Regions from separate parts of the Homo sapiens genome. Here region 1 is linked to region 2. Evidence: promoter capture Hi-C in 16 types of primary human blood cells and fetal thymus (Javierre and others, 2016). All regions are on one chromosome and are shown on one strand. The core of a region is centred on a gene start or on the middle of the fragment in contact, and the rest is flanking DNA. Distances in the headings are between cores, read along the strand shown. Region 1 holds the start of MZB1 (marginal zone B and B1 cell specific protein). Region 2 has its middle 22 kb from the start of HSPA9.

Evidence for each region. Contacts are between HindIII fragments. The CHiCAGO score rates a contact against its expected background, and 5 or more counts as called.
Region 1: a contact is called between the fragment with the promoter of MZB1 here and a fragment that was not itself captured in region 2, in 1 of 17 cell types (erythroblasts). The highest score is 5.7, in erythroblasts.

Annotation. Positions count from the first base shown.
Region 1 is chr5:139,385,154-139,392,814 of GRCh38, reverse strand. It overlaps MZB1 (marginal zone B and B1 cell specific protein), which reads left to right and starts at 2,902. Exons shown (of 4, transcript NM_016459.4): 1 at 2,902-3,135; 2 at 4,230-4,354; 3 at 4,684-4,794; 4 at 4,894-5,348. The coding sequence starts at 2,959. The coding sequence ends at 5,050. PROB1 (proline rich basic protein 1) reads left to right here. Exons shown (of 1, transcript NM_001161546.2): 1 at 1-2,223. The coding sequence ends at 781. It also overlaps a transcript of SLC23A1 not described here and a transcript of SPATA24 not described here. RefSeq lists silencers at 36-445, 1,716-1,765 and enhancers at 781-1,075, 2,736-3,145, 3,122-3,669, 3,670-4,217, 4,218-4,765 and 2 more. The HindIII fragment of the contact is 10,488 bases long and covers 1-7,661 here.
Region 2 is chr5:138,593,097-138,600,988 of GRCh38, reverse strand. No RefSeq gene overlaps it. Among named protein-coding and RNA genes, the nearest start is that of HSPA9, 22 kb to the right of the region's middle. The HindIII fragment of the contact is 1,068 bases long and covers 5,966-7,033 here.

The DNA.
Region 1 (7,661 bases), core at 1,653-4,152, 800 kb before region 2:
TGGAGGAGAGAACAGGGATGTAGAGGCCCAGCGCCTGGTCCCCGACGGCGACGGTCGGACCAGCCCTCTAGGCGGCGCCCGCAGCTCATCCCAGCGCTCCCCCGTAGGGCCAGCAGGGGTCCGATCGCCCCGCCCCGGCTCCCCTCAGATGCAAGCCAGCCCGAGCCCTGGGATAGCACCCAAACCGAAGACACCACCTACGGCCCCCGAGCCCGCGGCTGCCGTCCAGGCGCCACTCCCGCGGGAGCCCCTGGCGTTGGCGGGCAGGACGGCCCCAGCCCAGCCCCGCGCTGCCTCGGCGCCTCCCACGGACCGGTCCCCGCAAAGCCCCTCCCAGGGAGCGCGCAGGCAGCCCGGGGCCGCGCCCCTGGGGAAGGTCTTGGTGGACCCCGAGAGCGGCCGCTACTACTTTGTGGAGGCGCCGCGGCAGCCTCGGCTGCGGGTGCTCTTCGACCCTGAGAGTGGGCAGTACGTGGAGGTGTTGCTGCCGCCCTCGTCTCCCGGGCCGCCCCACCGCGTCTACACCCCTCTGGCCCTGGGGCTCGGCCTCTACCCGCCCGCCTATGGGCCTATACCCAGCCTCTCTCTGCCACCGTCCCCGGGCCCGCAGGCCCTCGGCAGCCCCCAGCTACCCTGGGTCTCTGAGGCAGGGCCCCTGGACGGGACCTACTACCTGCCGGTGAGCGGGACCCCCAACCCCGCACCTCCTCTGCTCCTCTGTGCGCCGCCCTCCAGCTCAGGTCCCACCCAGCCCGGCAAGGGTTCATTGTTCCCGCTGTGAGGCCCCGGGCCGATCCCCATGGAGTTGGAGCCCTTGGATGCCTGGGAGGTTCTGGCATCCAAGCCCCTACCCTCCTCTCCTTCCGTCGCCTCTGTCTTTAACCCATCCCAGTCAGTCGTCGGACAGGAAGTGATCTTCAGAGAATGAATCTGAGCCCCGAGGCTGGTGGAGCTGGAGTCACCCAGGAAGTGGCTGCCTACTTCCTCCCCCAACAAAATTATGTATCCCTTTCCCAGGCATTCCCAGGGCGTGGTGTGGTGTGGTGTGTGGGTGTGTGTATATGTGTATATGCGGGCAAGCAAATAGGGAAAGTGAGGCATCCCTGGGCTTGTCCCCAGGAGCCGATCAGAGGAGGTGCTGTGGCTGCCGTGGGGCAGCAGGAACGGGAGCAGCAGGAGACAGGGCGGGGAACTGTCTGCCCTCCCTGATGGTGGGCCCAGCTGAGGTGAGGCTGGCCAGTGCCCCTGGTGAGGTGGCAGGAAGGACTCTGGCTGTCGAGTCTGCTCTTAGGAAGAGGAGCTGAGCTTTGGCCCTGGAGGTTACTGGGGGGAAAGTGGCCAGTACAGCCCAGGCCAGGCTGGCTCCGAGAAAGAGCTAAGGCGGGGGACAGCAGGTGGAGGCAAAGCAAGGAATACAGGGAGGGCCTGGGTTGGGGGTTAGCCTGGAACTTGGGGTGGGAAGATGGGGAGCCTGGCCCTCAGAGCTGAGCTGACTCATTTTTGGGCCAGGGGTGGGGCTTCAGTCCCCCACCCCCTACATCGGGAGTAGGTGAAATGGTCATCAGGAAGCTCTGAGAAGAGGGAGGGTTGGGCTCTTGTCCCACAGGAGCCTCTTGACCCCTCTGTGTGGCCAGAAGGTGGGTTAGGGCCAGCAGTAGAAGCGATACCCCTGGTGGAGTATCCAGAGGGATCTGAAGCTCTTGGCAGGTTCCACTCCCCAGTAACAGATGTGGCAACAATGGCCAGAGAGGGGCTGGCCCTACAGACCAGTCACAGCAAGGGACAGGGCCCAGAGCCTGCACTTCAGTTGCCCTGAGATTCCAGGAGCCTCTGAGGGAGATGAGGGGGGTCTGCATGAGGTGGGAGGTGGTGTGCGTGGGGGTCTGTATATAGTTCTGAACCGGAAATGGCTGGCCCTTGCCAGCCTGGTGTGTGATGTGATGAGTTTGGGAAGGACAGTTTCCATGAGAAGCAGTGGCAGGGATGGGGATGGATGCCTTCGTTGTTCCAGGCCTGTCAGGGGGCCCAGGTCCCTAGCAGTCCCTGCCCTCTGCCCTGGACTGGAAGCTGACTAGGAGAGCTACGAATCAGAACAACTGGCCATTTTCTAGCTGGAGATGCCAGCTCCGATGGCATGGAGGGCCCTGGGGCCACCCCAGGTGTCTTTACCTCATCCTGGTGTGTAATAAATCACTGACCATGGAGCCATCATGGCTGAAATAACTGGTGTGAGGTGCCTGATTTCCTGCCACAGCCTCTCAACACCCTCCACAGTGCCCTTCCACGCCTGGGTATGGCCTGGGTGGAGGGGACCTCAGGGCTAGGGAAGGAGACCATGTGTGTCTTGGAAACACTGTAGCATCCCTGTCTCCCTGAACTTGCCTCCCAGGAGGCTGGCAGCCACACCTCATTCCTTCTGGTGGTTGAGTGGCCAGGGAGCCTTGGGGTCAATCAGGCTTGGGTTTCTCAGCATGGCCCCTCTAGCTATGTGGCCTTGGATTTGTCACCTCTCTCTGAGCCTTTGTGTCGGAAGAGGCAGAATAAACATGACAGTCTCATTTCTCAGAAAGGTCAATGAAACAAAAAAAGATGACGGCAGCCAACCAACTCTTCCCACAAGGCACTCAGCACAGTGCCTGCCACTTGGCCAGATCACAGGATGTGGGCAGTATCGGCCCCTATGTGTTCCTGCCTAGGCCCAGCCCCTCTCCTTGCCTCAGTGCTCCCTATCTGTGAAATGGAGCTGAGATGGCTGGAGCCAGGGTCCAGCTAGAGGACAATGCCCACGTGGCATCTTCGGGGCCCTGGAGGAGGGAGTGGGAGGAGGATGGGAGGGGTGAGGTGTCAGTTCCCCATTGGTCTAGGCCAGGTGTTCTGTGGCGGTCCCCACACCACACAAGCACACACACATCTGCACCTCAACCACAGACTACACTTGCTGAACTGGCTCCTGGGGCCATGAGGCTGTCACTGCCACTGCTGCTGCTGCTGCTGGGAGCCTGGGCCATCCCAGGGGGCCTCGGGGACAGGGCGCCACTCACAGCCACAGCCCCACAACTGGATGATGAGGAGATGTACTCAGCCCACATGCCCGCTCACCTGCGCTGTGATGCCTGCAGAGCTGTGGCTTACCAGGTGAGTCCTTCACCACTGTCACCCTGCCCTGCTCACACCCCTTCTCAAGCCAGACCCCTCCACCCACCTCACATTCCACCACCGGCCTTTGATCCCCAATCCCTACCACTGGGCATCAAGCCACAGATGCAGCCTTTCATATATTCCATGCCTCAGTTTACCCATCTGCCTGCCTAACAGCAGACAATCTGGGAGACCTCCTCAGTATTTTGAGACCCCAGGGAATCACTCACTTGTCCTTAGACTTCTCCCTTTCCAGGCCCATCCTTGAGTCCGGACTCCCTCCCCAACCCTGACGGGGCGGCTTTGGCTATGTGTACATGGTGCAAGTGCACACGTGTGAGCGCCTGCACGTGAGTATGCGTGTGTCTGGCTTCACACACACACCTGCTGAGCATGCCTGCGTGCCAGTGTCTCTGTGAGGTGGGGGCCTGGGAGTACTTGTGTGATTGAATATTGGGCTCCAGTTTTTCTTACCTTGCTCTTGTGGTTTAAAATGGCACGTGCCGGCCGGGCGCGGTGGCTCACGCCTGTAATCCCAGCACTTTGGGAGGCTGAGCGGGGCCGATCGCCTGAACTCAGGAGTTCGAGACCAGCCTGGCCAACATGGTGAAACCCCGTCACTACTGAAAATACAAAATTTTAGCCGGGTGTGGTGGCACATACCTGTAGTCCCAGCTACCTGGGAGGCTGAGGGAGAAGAATCACTTGAACCTGGGAGGTGGAGGCTGCAGTGAGCTGAGATCGTACCACTGCACTCCAGCCTGGGCGACGAACGGCGTGAGACTCTCTCTAAATAAATAAATAAATAAAAATAAAATGACACTTGCCACTGGGCAGGTGTGCCCTGGACGAGGGACCCCAGTGCCCAGGCCTCACCTACCACTTCAGCATTTCTTTCCCATCCCCCATCCCCATCCCAGAGAGCTTTGGGGGCTGGGGGAGGGGCCATGCAACAGCCTCACAGGTGCTTCCTGCTCAAACGGCTCTCTTGCCACTTTATTTTCCCCAGAGACTCTGCTCCTATCCTCCCCACCTCCCCCTAACTGAGCAGCAGTCCTGAGGCCCTGCCTCCCAGTCCCTCCTTGTTCCAGATGTGGCAAAATCTGGCAAAGGCAGAGACCAAACTTCATACCTCAAACTCTGGGGGGCGGCGGGAGCTGAGCGAGTTGGTCTACACGGATGTCCTGGACCGGAGCTGCTCCCGGAACTGGCAGGAGTGAGTTGCCAATCCTGCCCCCCACCTCCCTCCTCCAAGGGCAGGCCTGGTGGGTGGAGATTCCCACTCAGCCGCTCACACAACACACACACTCCTCTAGGACTCTGGTCCAAGGGAGGGGCTGGCTGGGATGAAGTCTGGGCTCTGGAGCTGAGAGCAAGTGGGAGAGCAGAGGGCCAGTGGACAAGGTCACCTTGTGACCTTGGGCCAGGGGCTTTCCCTCTCTGAATTCCACAAATGCCCAGCATGTCCAGCTTGCTGTGGAGATGGGTCTCTCCCTGGCTGGGCTCCTGCCAAAACTGTACTCCTCTCCTCTCCACTGCCACCAGCTACGGAGTTCGAGAAGTGGACCAAGTGAAACGTCTCACAGGCCCAGGACTTAGCGAGGGGCCAGAGCCAAGCATCAGCGTGATGGTCACAGGGGGCCCCTGGCCTACCAGGTGATGCCCGGGGCTTGGGGATAGGATGAAGCTCCTGGAGCCTTGGTTTGCCCCACTGTGGGCTGGGCAGCATCTGAGGCTCCTGCTGGGCTCCCCTAGGCTCTCCAGGACATGTTTGCACTACTTGGGGGAGTTTGGAGAAGACCAGATCTATGAAGCCCACCAACAAGGCCGAGGGGCTCTGGAGGCATTGCTATGTGGGGGACCCCAGGGGGCCTGCTCAGAGAAGGTGTCAGCCACAAGAGAAGAGCTCTAGTCCTGGACTCTACCCTCCTCTGAAAGAAGCTGGGGCTTGCTCTGACGGTCTCCACTCCCGTCTGCAGGCAGCCAGGAGGGCAGGAAGCCCTTGCTCTGTGCTGCCATCCTGCCTCCCTCCTCCAGCCTCAGGGCACTCGGGCCTGGGTGGGAGTCAACGCCTTCCCCTCTGGACTCAAATAAAACCCAGTGACCTCACTTCTTTTCTCTGCAAAAGGTGCTTGTGGGGCTGGGAGTGCAGACATTGGTGTTTCTGCTGATGTCCCTTGTGAAAAAAAAAAAAAAACTCTCAAAATCAATTTTTTTTTTTTGAGACAGTCTCACTCTGTCACCCAGGCTGGAGTGCAGTGTTCTTGGCTCGATGCAACCTCCACCTCCCAGGTTCAGGCGATTCTCCCACCTCAGCCTCCTGAGTAGCTGGGATTACAGGCACCCACCATCATGCCCGGCTAATTTTTGTATTTTTAGTAGAGACGGGATTTCACCATGTTGGCCAGGCTGGTCTTGAACTCCTGACCTCAGGTGATCCGCTCGCCTTGGCTTCCCAAAGTGCTGAGATTACAGGCATGAGCCACCGCGCCCGGCCTTCAAAATGCTTTTTCTATTCTCTCACTCGACAACAGCACAGAAGATGGCTGTGACCGAATGCGTGGGGGCTTTCCCCCACACACCAGGCAAGCAATTCTGCAGCTGACACCAGCTGGGTGCCCTCCAAAATTCAATTCTGGCACTATCTACCTGGAGATAGTGTCAGATCCCACAGGCTGAGGGCTCAGTCCACCATTCTGTCCCCCATTCAGACACCAGTTCCAACTCCAGGCCTCTGGAGCTTCTGGCCTACTGGCTTCAAGATGAGGTTCCCACAACCCCCTCTTTTGAGTTCAACTAATTTGCTAGAGTGGTTCGCAGAGCTCAGAGAAACGTTTACCAGTTTATTATAAAGGATGTTACAAAGGATACAGATGCAGAGATGTGTAGGGCAAGGTATGGGGAATGGGCTCGGAGCTTCCATGCCCTCCATGGATGCAACACCGTCCAGGAACCTCCACGTGTTCAGCTATCCAGAAGATCTCTGAACCCTGCAATTTTGAGTTTCTGTGGATAATTCATTACGTAGGTATGATTCATTAAGCCATTGGCCATTGGCGAACAACTTACCCTCCAACCTGTCTGCCCTCCCTTGACTGGGGATGGGGGGTGAGGGGAGGCTGAAATCCTGCCTTGGTCTCTCTGGTGACCAGCCCCTGTCCTGAAGCTACCCTAGGGGCTGCCAGCCATCAGTCAATCATTAGCACACAAGAAGACATCATTTTGGGGATTCTAAGATTTTAGAAATTGTACTCCAGGAAACAGAGGTCAAAGACCAAATATATATTTCACAATATTACATCCCTCCTACAGAAGGCCAAATTTGCATCCCTACAACTTCCAGAGGTAAGAGGGAGCCATCAATGGTGTGGTGATGTAATCGCCCAAAGGGTTCACCTTGCTCAAGCCTAGACAGAGCCGATTGCTCAAGACAGGGGAATTGCAATAAAGACTAATTAACGCAGAGCTGGCTGTGCAGGAGACCAGCGTTTTACTATTACTCAAATCAGTCTCCCCAAGCATTCAGGGAGCAGAGTTTTTAAGGACAACTTGGTGGATGGCGGGGAAGCCAGTGAGCCAGGAGTGCTGATTGGTCAGGACTGAAATCATAGGGAGTTGAAGCTGTCTCCTTGCCTTGAGTCAGTTCCTAGGTGGAGGCCACAAGTCCCAACGAGCCAATTTATGGATCTGGGTGATGCCAGCTGATCTATCAAGTGCAGGGTCTGCAAAGTATCTCAAGCACTGATCTTAGGAGCAGTTTAGAGAGGGTCAGAATCTTGTAACCTCTAGCTGCATGACTCCTAAACCAAAATTTCTCATCTTGTGGCTAATGTTGCTCCATCCTACAAAGGCAATCTAGTCCTCAGGCAAGAAGGAGGTCTGCTTTGAGAAAGGGCTGTTATTGTCTTTGTTTTAGACTATAAACTAAAAACTAAGTTTCTCCCAAGGTTAGTTCAGCCTACACTCAGGAATGAAGAAAGACAACTTGGAGGTTAGAAGCAAGATGGAACTGATTAAGTTAGATCTCTTTCACTGTCTCAGTCATAATTTTGCAAAGGTGGTTTCAGTGACATCCCAGGTCTTCAGAGCCTTCATGAGAAAAGAGAACCAAGGAAAACTGTGCACGCAGGCCACCTTGTGGCACACCTATTCCAGCCACTCCATGCTATCTGCACCCCTCCGAGAACACACGTCTCACTGGGTCTACACCCAATGGCTGTTCATTTTCCACACTCTGCCTTTGACCCCAGCTGGTATGGATGGGCCCTGGGTTTCTGACCAGCCAGATTCAACATTTTGGTTCTCAGTCCTGCTTTCTCTGGAAATTCTTCTGGCTGGGGCTTTTCCTTAGTAAAGAAGCCCTGGACCCCACCTAGGTCTGGGAACTGGAGATCGGTGGCACCAGAACTTTCAGTTTCGTTTGTGAGTGTCTCTGATCTGGCCAAGCCCTGGGAGAGAGACAGAACATTCTAACCCTCATTTTTAGAAATATTTTTATTTTGCACGAGAGCCATGTGCAGGAA
Region 2 (7,892 bases), core at 5,250-7,749:
TAAGCAATTTCATTTGAATGAGCTAGATGTACTCTACAGTCAAAAAGGCAAAAAGACAACGCATGCTGTAATGGACACGAGTTTCTCCCCAAGTGTTGCTTCCTTAGGGGATCAATCTCTTTAGTTATTCCAAAACCACATGGTCCTGGGAGTGGCAAGATCCTCCCCTGGACTTCAGGGGTAAGGACATGACCCAGGCCTAGCCCATCAGATTACTCCACACCTCTAGGCACAGCAACTGATTCAGAGAAGGACGTAGAACTCAAACCAGACCAATCACAGTGCTCTCCGGGCTTCTGCAGGAGCTATGGAAAAAATACATACTCTCTCCATGGAATGGTGAGTTCTGAGGGTAGCGCTGGTTTGGAGCTGCTGGTGGCCACCTGGCTGCCATATGTGAAGAGCCTGTCTGACCCTGAAGCAAGGCAGCAACAAGCAAAGCCAAGGAACAGGGATAGTCTGTACCCCATGCACCATTTGTTTTTGTGTGTGGGTGTTTTTGTTTGTTTGTTAATTTTCTTTTCTGAGACAGAGTCTTGCTCTGTCACCCAGGCTGGAGTGCAGTGGCACAATCTCAGCTCACTGCAACCTCCACCTCCCAGGTTCAATTAATTCTCCTGCCTCAGCCTCCTGAGTAGCTAGGATTACAGGTGTGTGCTACCACACCTGGCTAATTTTTTTTTTTTTTTTAGATGGAGTCTCTGTCACCCAGGCTGGAGTGCAGTGGCCCAATCTCAGCTCACTGCAAGCTCTGCCTCCCGGGTTCATGCCATTCTCCTGCCTCAGCCTCCCGAGTAGCTGGAACTACAGGTGCCTGCCACCACGCCCAGCTAATTTTTGTATTTTTAGTAGAGACAGGGATCCACCGTGTTAGCCAAGATGGGCTTGATCTCCTGACCTCATGATCCGCCCGCCTTGGCCTCCCAAAGTGCTGAGATTACAGGCATGAGCCACCGCGCCCTGCATTTTTGTATTTTTAGTAGAGACGGGGTTTCACCGTGTTGGCTAGGCTGGTCTCAAACTCCTCACCTCATGATCTGCCTGCCTTGGCCTCCCAAAGTGCTGGGATTACAAATGTGAGCCACCGTGCCCAGCGTGTTTTTTAATAAGCTGGTGTTTTGAAATTTTTATTTATTTTTGTATAAATGGGATCTCGCTATGTTGCCCAGGCTGCTTTTGAACTCCTGGGCTCAAGCAATCCTCCCACCTCAGTCTTCCAAAGTGCTGGGATTACAGGTGTGAGCCACGGTGCCCTGGCCATGATGCATCATTTGAAGTCATGGATCTAGTCTTCCCAAAGCCAGTCGACCATTTTGCTGGAGATGTTTGGAAGAAAACAGCTACCTTTTAGTTAGTTGTCTCTCTGGGATAAGGTCCTTATACTACCTTTCTGTTTGTTTGAGACACAGTCTCGCTCTGTCACTCAGGCTGGAGTGCAGTGGCGCAATCACAGCTCACTGCAACCTCTGCCTCCTGAGTTCAAGTCATTCTCATCCTTCAGCCTCCCAAGTAACTGGGACCACAGGCACACACCACCACGCCTGGCTAATTTTTTTGTATTTTTGGTAGAGACAGGGTTTCACCATGTTGGCCAGGCTGGTCTTGAACTGAGCTCAAGTGATCCACCTGCCTTAGCTTCCCAAAGTGATGGGATTACAGGCATGAGCCACCATTCCTGGCACTACCCCTATTTTATTCCCTCCCACAAAATATGTTGGGAGAAAAGTTATGGAAATGGATAATAATTATCCAAAATTTTCCTTTTCACCTCTAAATCAAAACACAAGATTCCAGATCTCTTGAGAGTAAGAATCAGGAGCCACTCTGATTCTAGAAATAGTGAGTCAACTAAGTGCTTTGAGGTCAGAGATATTTGAGGTGTATCCCTACATCTTTGGGAGCATCTCGATAAACATTTACTGTGCTCTCTGTCTCATTTTCTCTGGGGATCACTATCAAAATAGACGGATCAAGGTACCACCCAGTGGCCTTGCCAGAGAGGGTTCTTTGCCCCCTCACCAACTCCCTTCCCATCCTCACCACTAGTGGGAAGGAGGTCTTCAACATAACGGTGCATTGAAGTTAAGCTCTAAGGGGTGACAGAAGCAATGAGGAACCGTCTTGGAGGTGCTTTACTGGAAGAAAGTAAGAATCCACCTTCATCCTTCCAAAATAGAGCCAGACCTTGGCCAGGCGCTGTGGCTATAATGCCAGCACTTTGGGAGGCCAAGGTGGGCGGATCATCTTAGGTCAGTAGTTCAAGACCAGCCTAGCCAACATGGAGAAACCCCATCTCTACTAAAAATGCAAAAATTAGCCAGGCGTGGTGGCACACACCTGTAATCCGAGCTACTCAGGAGGCTGAGGCAGGAGAATCGCTTTAACCTGGGAGGCAGAGGTTGCAGTGAACCAAAATCACACCACTGCACTCCAGCCTGGGCAACAGACCGAGACACTGTCTCAAAAAATTAAAATTAAAATTAAAAAATGGAGCCAGACCCAATCTCACAGGCCCTAATAATGAAGCCTGGACTCAGAGAAGAAAGCAGGGGGTAGAAAGGAAGGAGGAGGAAATTTAAAGGGAACAATTGCAAAAAGATTGAAAAAGAAAGCCCCAAGAACAAAATAGCATCATGAAGAGGCCAAGAAGCTGAGCAAAACATAGCAGAGGGATGACAAGACCTGAGTACCTGCCGCCTTTCCTCAGAGCAGCCGGTTCCCTGGGCAGGTGCTGGGCTTCTTCCAGAGAGCTCCGGACCCTGCCCAGGGGAGTGTGGCGCTCAGGGCGCAGCTGGCTCCCAGGCAGAGCACAGACCTACCCGGCTGACTGTCTAGTCATGGCTCAAAGGTTCTTCCAGTCAATGTGCTTCCTTTACTGGTTAAACCTATGGAACCTCAGCCTGTGGCTCTCTGCTAACAAGGCTTTTTATACCCTTGCTACCACAGCTGTCTGCCAGATGCCTATTGAAGGAGCCATCTATTGCTAGAAAAACACACTCCACTTCTTTTTCAGTGGGCCTTTACTCCTCTATGCTTTCTGAACATAGAGAGAGGGGCTGTTGTTCCCAATGCTCGTTGTCATTGGGCATTAATCATCACTATACTCACAGGGCTCTCTACAGCCATTTGGGTTGCTCAATACTCTGCCACTTGGGAGAGCGGCTGTATTAGGTCAGGTTCCCCAGAAGCAGAGCCTGAGGTAGGATTCAAGGCACACGATTTATTGAGATGTGGCTTCAGAAGAAAGAGAATGAAGGAAGCAGGGAAGGGTAGGAGAGAAGGATATGGCTGCAACTTTGTGTTTAGCCTCAGCCTGACTCCACTGGGGGGTACTCAAGAGCATAAACAGCACCAAGGAATTGATCCTTTCTTGCAATGAAGGGGCTGGTCTTTGTACCCTCTTGGCTGAAACCTGAAGGGGATGGGTACAGGAGGGTACAAAGGGTCTCCTACACACTGGGAGCAATTTTCTGGAGGCGGGGACATCTGTGAGCTATTGGAGTCCCAGATAACAGCTGGGGGATGGATACACTGAAAAGGTAAAGGGAATCTGGGCAGGGTACCAGCAGCATCCAATACAGCTACACGTTAGTTGGCCAGGGCTGATGTAACACAATACCATAGACTGGGTGACTTAAACAACAGACATTTATTTTCTTACAGTTCAGGAGGCTAGAAGTCCAAGATGGGGGCAGTAAGAGGGGGAGAGGGGGAGGCAGAGTAGAGAAACCAAGCCCTCTGGTGTCTCTTCCTATAAGGGAACTAATCCCACCCTGAGGGACCCATCTTCATGACCTCACTTTAATCTGACTGCCTCCGCAAAGTCCCACCTCCAAATACCATCTGGGCATTAGGGCTTCAACATACGAATTTTGGGGGCACACAGTTCAGTCCATAGCAGCTACCATTTTCTAAACAGGAAAGCCAGCTTTGTTCCATGAGAGCCATTTCCCCACCAGTCATTTCCCTGCCACCTAAATTCCTCTGGGAACCCCATTTGTTGACTGATATGGAAGAGTTAAGTTTAAACCCCAGCTAGCAGAAACAGGCCTAGGATCTCCCAATGGCTTCTCTTTCTTCTGCCTTAGCAGATGCTCTGCTTGATCTGGGAAAATCAGGCTGGGAATGCTTGCAAGCCTCAGTCCTTGGTAAGTATTCTGGAGGTGACAGCTGAGGCATGTGCATGCACTCCTACCCAGCTCAGGCTTTGAAGCTCGGGAGCAGAGCCATTAACATTCTCTTCAGCCCACAGATAGTTCTCTTCAGCCCTTGTTGGTCTCATTTTCTTCCCTCCTGACTTTTTCATCAAGAGCAGCAGCTTTCTTGTTCCTAGAACCTTTTCTTCTCTTCAAAGAGCTCTGGTCCCCAGGGAGGCCTGTGGCAGAGAGACTTGCCAGACACTTCTGGGTTCCCAATGAAGAGGAGACCATGCCACCTGCTTTGCAGCTAAGAACCCAAGCACCCCCGCTCCCTTCACAGATGCCTTCAGGATTGAGCAAAGGACCAGCCAGGGGGGCCCACTTGCCCCCTGGTTTCCTGGGCATCTGCAGGGGTTAGGCCGTGGGCTAGAGGGACTATCCTGCTGGGTCCTCAGGTCCACTCCTACTTCTGAATTTGGGCTATTTAAATAGAGGAGGTCAGAGAGGATAGTCACAGAGAGTAGGAATCCACCCACTGCCCCACCTCCATTCTGAAGCTATGAGAGGAGGTGGGGAGGGCTCCTTTCACAGAAGACCTCCTGTAGGCTGGAGAGGGGCAGAGAAGAGTTCTCAGTGGGAGCACCGTTCACGCCTGTGTGATTTATTAAGAGCTACTATCTATCAAGCTGTGTGGGGGGGTGCTTAGAGAATAGGAAAAAGTAATATCGGGGAAACTTAAATTCTACTAGCCCCAAAGCAAATTTCCTAAGCAGTCTACAGATGTTAGTAAAAGGGACTCCAGTGCTTGCAATTCAGACAGAGGAGAGTCAAGCAGATGGTAATTCACCATCATTGTCTAAACTTTCCTCTTAGGGCTGCCCTTTCTCCAAGAGCCACTGGTTGTATCCCTGTTCCCCCATGAGGTTTTGCAGGGGTGAGCGAATTGTGCCATATTCCTCCACTGCCCAGGACTTGGTTCTGTCATCTCTGCATCTTCCCTGCCCCATGCCCTACAGTTGTCTCAGGAATCCGAGCACTCACTCCTTACAGTTGCTTCTGCAGTGATTCCAGAGAGATACAAGAAAGCAACCTCCCCAGGAGCATATTTTATCAAACTCCTGTGCAGTCAGAACAACAGTTATGGCAATGAGGTGCCATCATTTTTATTCATTTCCCTGTCCCCTCTGGCTGCAGAGCTGGGCCCAGCATCACATTGCACACCAGCCCAGGTAGGCCCAGCAGCACACAGAGGACTGTGACTCCATCTGCTGGCTTGACAGCAGCTCCAGATCAGAGCCTTTGAATTCCTTGCAAGGCAGGCTCTGGCTCTGAACTGGAAGACCAAGAAGTCTTTTCATCATGATAAAGTAAAGATATTCAGCCATTTTGTCAAAGGCGATGACATCTACCCCTCCCACCTTAAACCCATAGACACAGATACAAATACGCCAGGGAAACACTGAGCCAAGGATTGTTGATCTCTCTGACAGGAGTTAGGGAAGGCAGCCCAGTAGCCACTGGCTGTGCTGTGCATAAGCATTGCTTTGGGGGCTATAATAGAGACCTTCATACAACAAGAGGACAGCTCCAAACCGAGGTAGGGGTGGGATCAGAAAAACACTAATGAAATTAGCGTTTTCTTCTTTCCATCATGCCCTTCACCTCTACTTGCCTTCTTTATGAAAGAGGCTTCCTCTGTAGATTACTTAACTATTCCCAAGGGCCTGTGGTCCATGCAGAGTCATCTTTATCCTCAAGATTTCTTACTGCTCTTACTGAGCAAGGAAAGGATGAGGGCCCACTTTAGAGATGAGAACAATTAAGCTTCCTTGAGAGAAGACAGGAGAACAATAATATTACCTACCTATACTCAGAAAATAACCACTTGGTTCCTGAAATCCCTTGTTTGATGACATTGTGTTATTTGGAAATTTCAGTAAGGCTCCAATATGCAGTACCCATGTCATACCAAAGTGAGGCGCCAGCAATGATGCAAATTTTCATAGGAAACAGTTGACAATCACTTATGGGACTCTCAAATTTTCACCCCTATCAAGGGGAAAAAGAAATTGTTGGATATTAAGAGAATGTTTCTGAAAAGGATTTATTCGGTGCAAAGTATTCGTGTGCTATGGGTACCCCCTCCAAAAGAAAGAGGATACCTGTGTTTCACTACAAGCCTAATGAGAAGAGCTTGGAAGAGACTCCTAGGAGAGTTTGATATGTGTCTTCTCCTGCAGTTAGCAGGACAGAGTGGTCTAATTTCTGACTCCAGCCCAAAAAAATGTAGAAGCCACCATATGTGCTAGCAGCTGCTTTGTGATGCTGGGATTTGTTCAGAGCTTGTGTGGGCAAAAACCTGTTTCTCACAGACCTGAGGTGGGGCACATGCATAGGGGGATGTTTTGGAGAGCATTTTAGATCCTGACCAATAGGAATGTCAGAGGGCAAACAGGCCTGAGCAGAAGAGAAACTGGAAATGGACTGTTACATTATGAGGGTCTGGAGAGGGCGAAAGCAACTGACAAGAGGGGAGTCCACTTGCCCAGGCCACTGGGAACTGCTGCAGCAGCAGCAGCAGCAGCAGCAGCAGCAGCAGCAGCAGCAGCAGCAGCAGTGTGTGTGTGTGTGTGTGTGTGTGTGTGCGCAGATCTCTGAAGAACCCACAAAAGTGCTTTATGAGAAAGCTAGATTTAAACACTGGCCACACTGGGAGGTAGGAGAGTGCAAAGCCAGCTTTGACATGAGACAAGTACCATATTTTCTGTCGCCTCTTAGTTTCTTGTGCTCTAATTCTAGAAGGATCAGAAACTTCAGAAGAGAAAGACTACACCCTTTCTTTTCATTTGCAGCAGGCCCCAGATAGGAAGGACAAATAGCAAATAGCTTAAGCTTCGAAAACCAAGCAGAAACATTGATAATACCAAGCTGAACATTTTAAGTGCCTAATTGAAATCATGCTGTACTGCGTACAGTGGCTATAAGGCTTCCTAACACCTCCAAGGGATCCTGAAAAGTATTTGTCCAGGAGCACACTTAAGACCATCACTACAAAGCAGGTTTAAAGAAACAGTGGGGCCAGGCGCAGTGGCTCACGCCTGTGATCTCAACACTTTGGCAGGCCGAGGTGGGCAGATTGCTTGAGGTTAGGAGTTCGAGACCAGCCTGGCCAACACAGCGAAATCCCGTCTCTACTAAAAAAAAAAAAAATAGCTGGGCATGGTGGCAGGCACCTGTAATCCCAGCTACTCAAGAGGCTGAGGCAAGAAAATTGCTTGAACCCTGGAGGCAGAGATTGCAGTGAGCCAAGATCACACCACTGCACTCCAGCCTCGGCAACAGAGCAAGACTCTGTCTTGAAAAAAAAAAAAAGAAAAGAAGAAACAGTGGGAGCTGAAAACAAAGTTTCTGTTATGATTATACCCCATCAGTACTGCTTGTCATTGTTCCAGTTGCAGTTATAAAAGTTGTTCTTCAATCTTTATTTTAAAAATAATTAAAACACCAAAGGACTCATAAGAAGAGGAGCTATTGTCAGAGCTAACAGTTCTCCTTGGCTTAACAATGTTTCAGTGTCCTTGTGGAAAATGAGGCTTCCAGCTCAGCCCACTTCTCCTCTTTCTTCTTCATTTCCTGAAGACTCTCTCTTCCCTCCTCCTGTTACTCTGCAGTATATAGCACAGTTCTGAGTACAGCCACTTTTAACAACATCATAAAACTCCCTCAGTCCTGCCCCCAACCCTGCCCATCTTC